Regions from separate parts of the Homo sapiens genome. Here region 1 is linked to region 2. Evidence: promoter capture Hi-C in human tissues and cell types (Jung and others, 2019). All regions are on one chromosome and are shown on one strand. The core of a region is centred on a gene start or on the middle of the fragment in contact, and the rest is flanking DNA. Distances in the headings are between cores, read along the strand shown. Region 1 has its middle 8.9 kb from the start of BEND4. Region 2 holds the start of SHISA3 (shisa family member 3).

The links. The method cuts DNA at HindIII sites, captures the fragments that hold promoters and counts their contacts. A contact is called where the count stands out against the background at its distance.
Region 1: a fragment that was not itself captured here is called in contact with the fragment with the promoter of SHISA3 in region 2 in 1 of the 25 tissues and cell types used here (H1 embryonic stem cells).

Annotation. Positions count from the first base shown.
Region 1 is chr4:42,159,250-42,163,847 of GRCh38, forward strand. No RefSeq gene overlaps it. Among named protein-coding and RNA genes, the nearest start is that of BEND4, 8.9 kb to the left of the region's middle. The HindIII fragment of the contact is 4,206 bases long and covers 671-4,598 here.
Region 2 is chr4:42,395,203-42,399,218 of GRCh38, forward strand. SHISA3 (shisa family member 3) reads left to right here and starts at 2,286. Exons shown (of 2, transcript NM_001080505.3): 1 at 2,286-3,131. The coding sequence starts at 2,855. RefSeq lists silencers at 2,030-2,109, 3,750-3,799 and an enhancer at 2,334-3,223. The HindIII fragment of the contact is 30,120 bases long and covers 1-4,016 here.

The DNA.
Region 1 (4,598 bases), core at 1,524-4,023, 240 kb before region 2:
GTATATTTACTTGTTTATTATTTGCTTCCATTGACTAGAATGCAAACTCCCTCAGGGCAGAGATTTTATCTGTTTTGTTCTCTACAGAGTCCACAGCATCTAAAATAATGCTTAGCACATAAAAGAGGCTCAATAAATATTTTCTGACTGAGTGACATGATGAAGCCCTGGCAGCAGTCTAAATGAGAGCCAAGACTGCTTGGACCAGTGTAGCGGCAGTGACGATGGAAGGAAGTGGGCAGATCCGGAATGCATTTAAGAAGCAACCTGTTCTGCTTTATATAGCTCTCAACAGTGGAAATTTTTTCCTTGTGTTGAACACAAATTTACGTCTTTGCTTCTCAGAACTGTTGGCCCTTGTGGCTATTCAGAGGAAGCTTAATCCCCTCCATCCTCTCTTTGGAATGAAATCTACAACAGTTTTATCTTTCCTTCTGGGTTGGGAAAAACTCTAACTGCATTTTTCCTCTGCTCTCACACCACAACACTCATCAACATAGAAGACTTCTGTGACCAAACATGGGGGTTTTCTCCACCACCAAGCACTGGACACCAGCTGGTGCCACTTCAGTTCTGACACCATCTACCTGGAGATAGCATCAGATCACACAGGATGAAGGCTCAGTCCCCAAGACTGCCCCCTCCACAGACACCAGTCGCAAGTGCGGGCCTCCGGAACTTCAGACCTACTGGCTTCACGTTGGGGTTCCTATGACCCCCTCTTTGGGTTCAGTTAATTTGCTGGAGCAGCTCACAGAACTCAGGGGAACCGTTACTTACCTTTGCCAGTTTACTATAAAGGATATTCCAAAAGGTATAGATGAAGAAACGTGTAGGGTGAGATATGAGGGAAAAGGCTCAGGGCTTCCATGCCCTGCCTGGGCATGCCACCCTCCAGGAACCTCCACGTGCTCAGCTATCCAGAAGACTTTGGAACCCAGTTCCTTTTGGGTTTTTATAGAAGCTTCATGATGTCAGCATTCCTTCTCCCAGTGTATAGAGTGGGGCCCTCTCTGGCACGGGTATTAAGACCCACAGTCCTGCTTCTCAGAATAGGAGATTTGAAAGAAAAAAAAAAAAAGACCCACAGTCAGAAAGGTGGGGGGAAGATTAAAGTTCAGCCTTGGGGCAGGTGAGAGGAGGGCGGGGCAGAGTTTGCGTTTCCTCAGGCTTGCACCTGAGGCCTAACATACTCAACATTGTCACAAAAGATTGTAACAAGGGCTATGAGAGTTGTGAGCCAGGAACAGTGGATGAAAACCAATATATATCGTAACACTACACCTTTCTATGATGGTTTCTAAGACGTTTTTGGAATCCTTTTAAAGAGTAGAAGAGGACAGTCATCTTTGATCTAATTACCATTTTTTTTTTCACTAATAGAATCCTAGAATCATTAAGACTCTTTTAGTAGCAAGTGACAGAAATCCACTCAAATGGACTTAAGCAAATATGTTTATAGCTTGAATAATGCAGAGATATATCTGCAGGCATGGGTGCTCACATGGTGTTATTAGTAATCTACCCCTGTCCATTCTTGCCTCCAGTTTTCTTTGTGTTGATTCATTCTCTGGCAGGTCTTTCCTTTACAGTGTCTATCTGGCCACCAGCAGTTGTCAACTGTGTGCAAGAGATTATCTCTTTCCCATCAGCTCCAGAATTGACTATTGGCTAATTGGGTCTTGATAATGGATTAGTTTATTTGTCCATTGACCCTTCCAATATTATGACGTTGTGGCTATTTCCCTTCAGAGAACTGAAGAAATTTCCCCAAAGTCACCAAGCAAATCATTGAAGAAGTTAGCCCAATATTCTTCTCTTTATCAGTGTAGCAAATGTACCTTGTCAAGTTTCATAAATTTAACCTTTTATTCTCTATTCTTCACTTTCTTCCAACTCCTAAAGAAACATTCCTCCCAAAGAGCTGAAAGCACCATGGACATAAGTATGAGCTTAAGATATTTAATTTTTTTTTAATTTCATTATTATTATTATTATTGGAGACAGGGTCTCGCTCTGTCACCCAGGCTGGAGTGCAGTGGTGCAAACCTGGCTCACTGAAGCCTTGACCTCCTGGGCTCAGGCAGTCCTCCTGCTTCAGCCTTACATATAGCTGGGATCACAGGTTTCAGCCACCACGCTCAGCTTTTTTTCTTGTTTGTTTGTTTGTTTGTTTGTTTGTTTGTTTTTGGAGAGATAGGGTCTCACTTCATTGCCCAGCGTGGTCTTGAACTCCTGGGCTCAAGTGATCTTCCTGGTTTGGCCTCCCAAAGTGCTGGAATTACAGGCATGAGCCACTGCACCCAGCCACTTGAGATATTTAAGAGAATAAAATTGGATACTAAAGCCAGGAAGAAAAAAGGAGAAAAGAGTTAGGAAGAGAAAGTTGAGAATATACGATAACAGCAAGTCAAACTGTTGGGGATTTAATTCCTAAGAAGAGTTTGCAGTCTTTTCCAGCAAGATCCATTTCCATCCTGGCCACTCTTAACTTTCTCTGGGTACTGTGCTACGACAGGAAATGATCGGTTCATAATGGTTATTGGTGTTTAAGTCAAGGTTTTATTCCATACCATCACAGGAGGGCCACTTCCACAGAGAAGCTTCTGAAATGAGCCACTGAAATATAATCTTAAATATTGGCAACTTGCAGTTTTGTAACATCACACATTATACACTTTATTAGAATTTTTATAAATTAATGCATGCCATTTGCCCCCAGCCAAGAAAGCAGCTGGATTTGTCTGGTGTTCTGGTTGTCTGGAGTATTTCATGGTTTACTAACAAAGCTTCTGTAAGCACTAGTTTTTGGAAACCAATAGAAATATGATTTCGCTTCTAAAATTGTGATAAGTGTCTAACTGACTTATATAAGAAATGTCCAGGCAGCTGGACTTTTTGGATCTGTTTTCTAGGCTAGGAAAGAACAAGGACTTTTATTTTTTTTTAACCTCTTCTTTGGTCTCCAAAAAGTAGCTGGTAACAGACTTTATATATTGCGTGAAGACCAACAGTGATCCTTTAACTTATTGTTTTCAGGTAATTCAAACTTGTGGGTCTTTCTCCCCACCACTCCAGCATCAAAAGTGAATGACTGCAAAGTCAGATTTTTCTTTTCCATAAGGGAAAAGAAAAGGCTGCCATATCACAAACGGAATGGCTTACCCAGAAATTTATTGCCTCAGAGTTCTAGAGGCTACAAATCCAAGATCCAACCAAGATTCAACCAAATGGTGTCAGCAGGATTGGTTCCTTCTGAGGGCCATGAGAAGGAATCCATTCCATGACTCTTTCTTACCCTCTGGTGTTGGTTGGCTAGCAATCTCTGGTGTTCCTCAGTTTGTAGAAATACCACTTCAATCTCCATCTTCATCTTCCATGACATTCTCCCTACGTCCCTGTCTCTGTTCAAATTTCTGTTGTTTCAGCCACCCAGTTTGTGGTACTTCTTTTTTTTTTTTAGATGGAGTTTCACTCTTGCTGCCGAGGCTGGAGTGCAGTGGCGTGATCTTAGCTCACTGCAACCTCCACCTCCTGGGTTCAAGTGATTCTTCTGCCTCAGCCTCCCGAGTAGCTGGGATTACAATTGCCTGCCACCACTCCTGGCTAATTTTTGTATTTTTAGTAGAGATGGGGTTTCACCATGTTGGCCTGGCTGGCCTCGAACTCCTGACTTTAGGTGATCCACCTGCCTCGGCCTCCCAAAGTGCTAGGATTATAGGACTTTGGACATGAGCCACCATGCCCAGCGTGGTACTTATTGCAGCATTAGCAAACTAATACATATACATGGTACTTATTGCAGCATTAGCAAACTAATGCATATACGTGGTACTTATTACGGCATTAGCAAGCTAATACATATGCCATATATGTAGGTGTATGGTATATATACATATATGATAATCATATACCATATGTAGATTATATGATAATCTCTATCAGAATGAGTTATGCCAAAAAGGTCAAGTATTTGATTTTTTTGCAAGTCTATCAGAACTTGTATGATTTCATACATATTGACAGAAGACTTAAATATACACAACAGATATGTACACTTGGGCATGAACAGTGAGTTCTTAGGAGGCCACAGAACAAAGGGCCAATGTGTGGCTATTAAGAATAGGGTCTGCACTTTGGGAGGCTGAGGTGGGCAGATTGCTTGAGCTCAGGAGCTCAGCTAGCCTGGGCAACATGGCAAAACACTGCCTCTACAAAAAATAAAAAAAGTTAGCTGGGCATGGTGACATGCACCTTGGTCCTGGCTACTCGCAGACTGAGATGGGAGGATCACTTGAGCCCAGGAGTCCGAGGCTACAGTGACTTGTGATCACTCCACTGCACACCAGCCTGGGAAACAGAGTGAGACCCTGTCTCAGAAAAAAAAGAACAGGGTCCCTTGCTCATTTCCATCACATCTCTGGAAATGTCCAATATGCCTTAATGAATTCAAGCACATCCCAGGAAATGGTGAAGGACAGTTACATAGGGCTAATGCCTCCAAGCTTTTTCTGACACTACCACAAAAAGCATGGACAGAGAACAAGTTATTCTAGTTGAATCACTCATAAAAATTATTAAAGACATATATGAACATA
Region 2 (4,016 bases), core at 1,036-3,535:
TTTATATATCTAAAAAGAGGTGAATATTCTCTTTCTGTTGGTGAAAAGGATTCTCAGGGCATCAGTTTTGAAGTTAAAATTTGACAATGGAAAGTTTGCAGAGATCTTCTATGACAAGAAACCAAACATATCACTGCCTCCCCCCAACCCCTCGCCCAGGCAAACTCCTGAAGCTGATTGTTGTAATGGTTTTAAAGGTGCTTAGGATGAGGACCTAGATCTGAAGCATGGTGCACAGTTGTTTACTGTTCACACAAGTCAGATCTACGAAGGATCAAGTAATTTGGAGGTTTGGTTACTTTCCATTAGTAAACATCATCCAACTAAATTTGGGTAAAATGCCCTCTAAATAAGTCAAGTAGACAGGAGCTTTGAATGAGGGAATTAATTATAGCTGGTGTCTCCAGGAAAAAGAATCCCACTGTGGCATGGAGAATGTAATTAATGGGAGGTAAGTGCCAACAAATCACTCCTTAAAATATTAATGCTATCAAAGAACAGCTGGATAATGAGAGAAACTTGACCCTTGGGGGACCAGCAAAGGTTGCTGCTGCAGCAGAACTTTATGCAGTTATGACGTAATGAAATTCCTCTAAATTTTAACAAAAACTAATATTAAAAGGTGTGGTTCTGGGAAAGTTATTAGCAGTAAACATGTCATAATTTTTATCATCTGATTATAATCACTATATCTCATTTTTGCTGTGTTTCTAAGTGACATTTTCCTGTAATTGCTCAGGATATATATACAATTGAAACAACACTCCTAAAAAACAACTAGAGTTAAAAAAAAGATTAAGTCTGGCAAGACCTTTTTTTTGTAAATAAAAAACCCAATATCTAAGAAATTTCTGCAAAACAATTTCCCATATGCTTAAACTATTTAACTAAAAAACTGTTTCATTGTTTGTTATTGAAAGCTCCAACTTAATTTGTTTTTACTTAATAGCTTCGTATTGTCCTAAGAAATATGTAACTCTAAGAGAGCAATAAAGTTAAATATTTACACGGTCCCACTTAACGTGTGAAATGGACATGTATTTTCAGCAGCCACATAACTAAATGCTAATCCCAATACCTAAAATTAGAAATCAGAAGTAATTATTTAATTGGAATATACTTTAACTTAGATAAAAAAAAAAAAAAAAGAAATCGTTTTAATAGGAGATTTTTAAAAAAGTTTCTCCGGAATCGACTCGGTTCATCAGGAAGCTGCGAACGTGATAAATGCGTTTGACCGCGCACCTTGTGTCGCTGGAGCTGAGAACACTTTGTTCCTTTTGTTTCACTCAACTTGCCGACATCTAACTCAGGGACACGGGTATGCAGCTTGTTTGACAAATAAGCCGAGATACACCGAACATATTCACACATACCAATAGACGATGATTGGAAGTTCAGGATGCAGTCAAAATAAATGCTTGCGTTTGGCCCAGGTTTCACATAACACCAGTTTCATAAGGCACTTAGGCCGCTAACGGAGCAGTGCCCCTGAAAATAGCCCACAGGGGACACATCATTTAAATAAATGTGTTTCTTTCCCTGAACAGAAGTTCAGTTCTGCTCAATTATCATTAATTTTGCTCCTTTATTTCCTTTGCGGGCGTGAACGGAGAAGTCGTGCTCTTTGAGGTTTTGCGAGCTGGCCTTGGCTGGCAGAGGTGACCGGCAATCCTTCAGCCGGCGGAAAAAGTGCGAGTGTGTGTGTGTGTGTGCTTGTGAAAATGTGCCGTTCCTCCCAGAAAAAGTGGAAACGTAGGTGGAAAGCTCAGCACATGTTGGCGACACCTAAAAACCATGTTCTCGGTCCTGAACCTTTAGAAGCGGTATCCCAGGAACGAGTCTGAGTCTGTGCAACAGGGCACAGATGATTCGACAAACTTCAATGACTGCACCGCATTCATGCATTATATCCATTGAAAAGTAAATCCAGCGTCTCCACTCGCGCGCCCACGTGCGTGGATAAACGCGGGAATTCGGCAGCCCTCAACGTCACTCTGCAGAGATTTCCGGGCTGTGAGAGAGTTGGGGTGTGCGGCGGGGGAGGGGAGGGTCTGATATCTTCAGGTTGAGAGTCAAGTCCTGGGGGAGCGGCATGGGCGGGGGTGGCCGGGGGGAGGCGGAGGATGGAGCGCGAACCAGAAAGCGCAGAGGACCCTCGGCCCGCGCCGCACCCGCTGTGATTAGCTCCAGAGGCGCGATCCGGGAGGGCGGACTCTTTCTTAACCCTCATTGTCTCCTCCTCCCTCTTCCTTTTTAAAAGACGCCTTGCGGGCAGAGCTGTCAGCAACCCCGCGGCCGTTTGTACTTGGCCGCGGCGGAGCTGACTCCTGCTCCTGTGACAGATAGGGGCTGGGGCTGAGCGGCCGCCTGTCTGGGGTACTCGCACGTGGGGAACAAATTCTTTTCCTCCGGCTCCTCTCGGGACCCGGCGATCGCCACAGGTTGGGACTCTGTGCGGCGCTGGAGTTGGCAGCCCCGGGCGCTATGGCTCCCTTGAGGAGTGGGGAGGGAGGTGGCCGGGGGGTTGGCGCGCCCCTCGCGCGGGGAGCGCTATGAGCCGGGCGAAGGGCGGCAGCGACAGCCCCAGCAACTGCCTCTGCCGGCGCCTCCCGCAGGCCCTCGCCAACTCGCCCCGCGCACCATGCTGACTCCCGGCCTGCGGAACTCGTAGTGCAGCCCCTGTCGCCTCCCCGGCCCCTGCTATCCCACGCAGGACTGGCTTCGGCCGCCGGGGCCAGCAGCTTGCGACGTGTCCCTGGGGAGGCGGAATCGCTGTGCGCCCTGAGCCCGGGCTCAGCCCTTCGCTTTCCAGCTGCGTCCTGCTCCCGGCCGCCCAGGGAGCCCAGTGGCGATGAGGGCACTGCTGGCGCTTTGCCTTCTCCTTGGCTGGCTGCGCTGGGGCCCGGCGGGCGCCCAGCAGTCCGGAGAGTACTGCCACGGCTGGGTGGACGTGCAGGGCAACTACCACGAGGGCTTCCAGTGCCCAGAGGACTTCGACACGCTGGACGCTACCATCTGCTGCGGCTCCTGCGCGCTCCGCTACTGTTGCGCCGCGGCCGACGCCAGGCTGGAGCAGGGCGGCTGCACCAACGACCGCCGCGAACTGGAGCACCCAGGCATCACTGCGCGTAAGTGCGGGGCCCTCGGGGACATATCCCCGCCCGCCTAACGGCGGCGGCTGCATGTGTGCGCGGGAGGATGCACAGACCCAGGCAGGTCTATGCGCCTTCCTGGGTCTGTGCGCCAGGGGGACGCGGCCGGGTGGGGGAATCAAGGGATGAGTGGGTGGTCGCGTTTCAGATCATGGTCCTCTATTCATTTGCAGTCCCGCTTCCCGCCACTTGCGGTCTCTGCGGGTCGGCCCGCAGGGAAAGTTTGCCAGGGACAGTGAGGAGCGCGGGGCTTGTGCCTGGTAGCCGGGGGGAAGACAGCTGGAGCTCCCGGGAGAAGGGTAGTGCGGGTAAAGCCAGGGTAGACTTGGGTTTTGGTGGAGGGGCCGAGGGTGTCCCATTGCTCGCCCTTGTCACTTCGGGAGCTTCGGGAAGTGCCGAATGCAGGGAATCGCGACTCTTGTCGCGCGCTCATTTGCAGCCCTTCAGGGCTAAGAAACCCCAGTCACTTTTTTTTTCTGTCTTAATGATAGCGTTTCTAAGCCACGGCCCCGTTCTGCAGACTTCCTTTCAATTCTCTGCATCGAATTACCCTCTCCGGCCCACCCCCTATTGTCACGCCTTTCAGAAATGCCCAGGTCTTCGAGGTGGAGATTTAGAAACAAGGGTCGAAGGGGCTTCCCCGCCCCCTATTCTCACTTCGGAAAACACGGGTCAAATTTCCGCTGACTTCAGAGCGGAATAAATCACGACCCCAGCAGAGAAAATTTACACCTTGAAAAAAAGTTTTCCACCTGAATCGGAACATCAGGGAAACGCTTTAGAGCTTGAGGCGAGGGTTTTATGGCCAGGGAAACCGGAGAAGCGGGCGGAGCTGAGAGCGGGTGACACCCCAGGACTCCA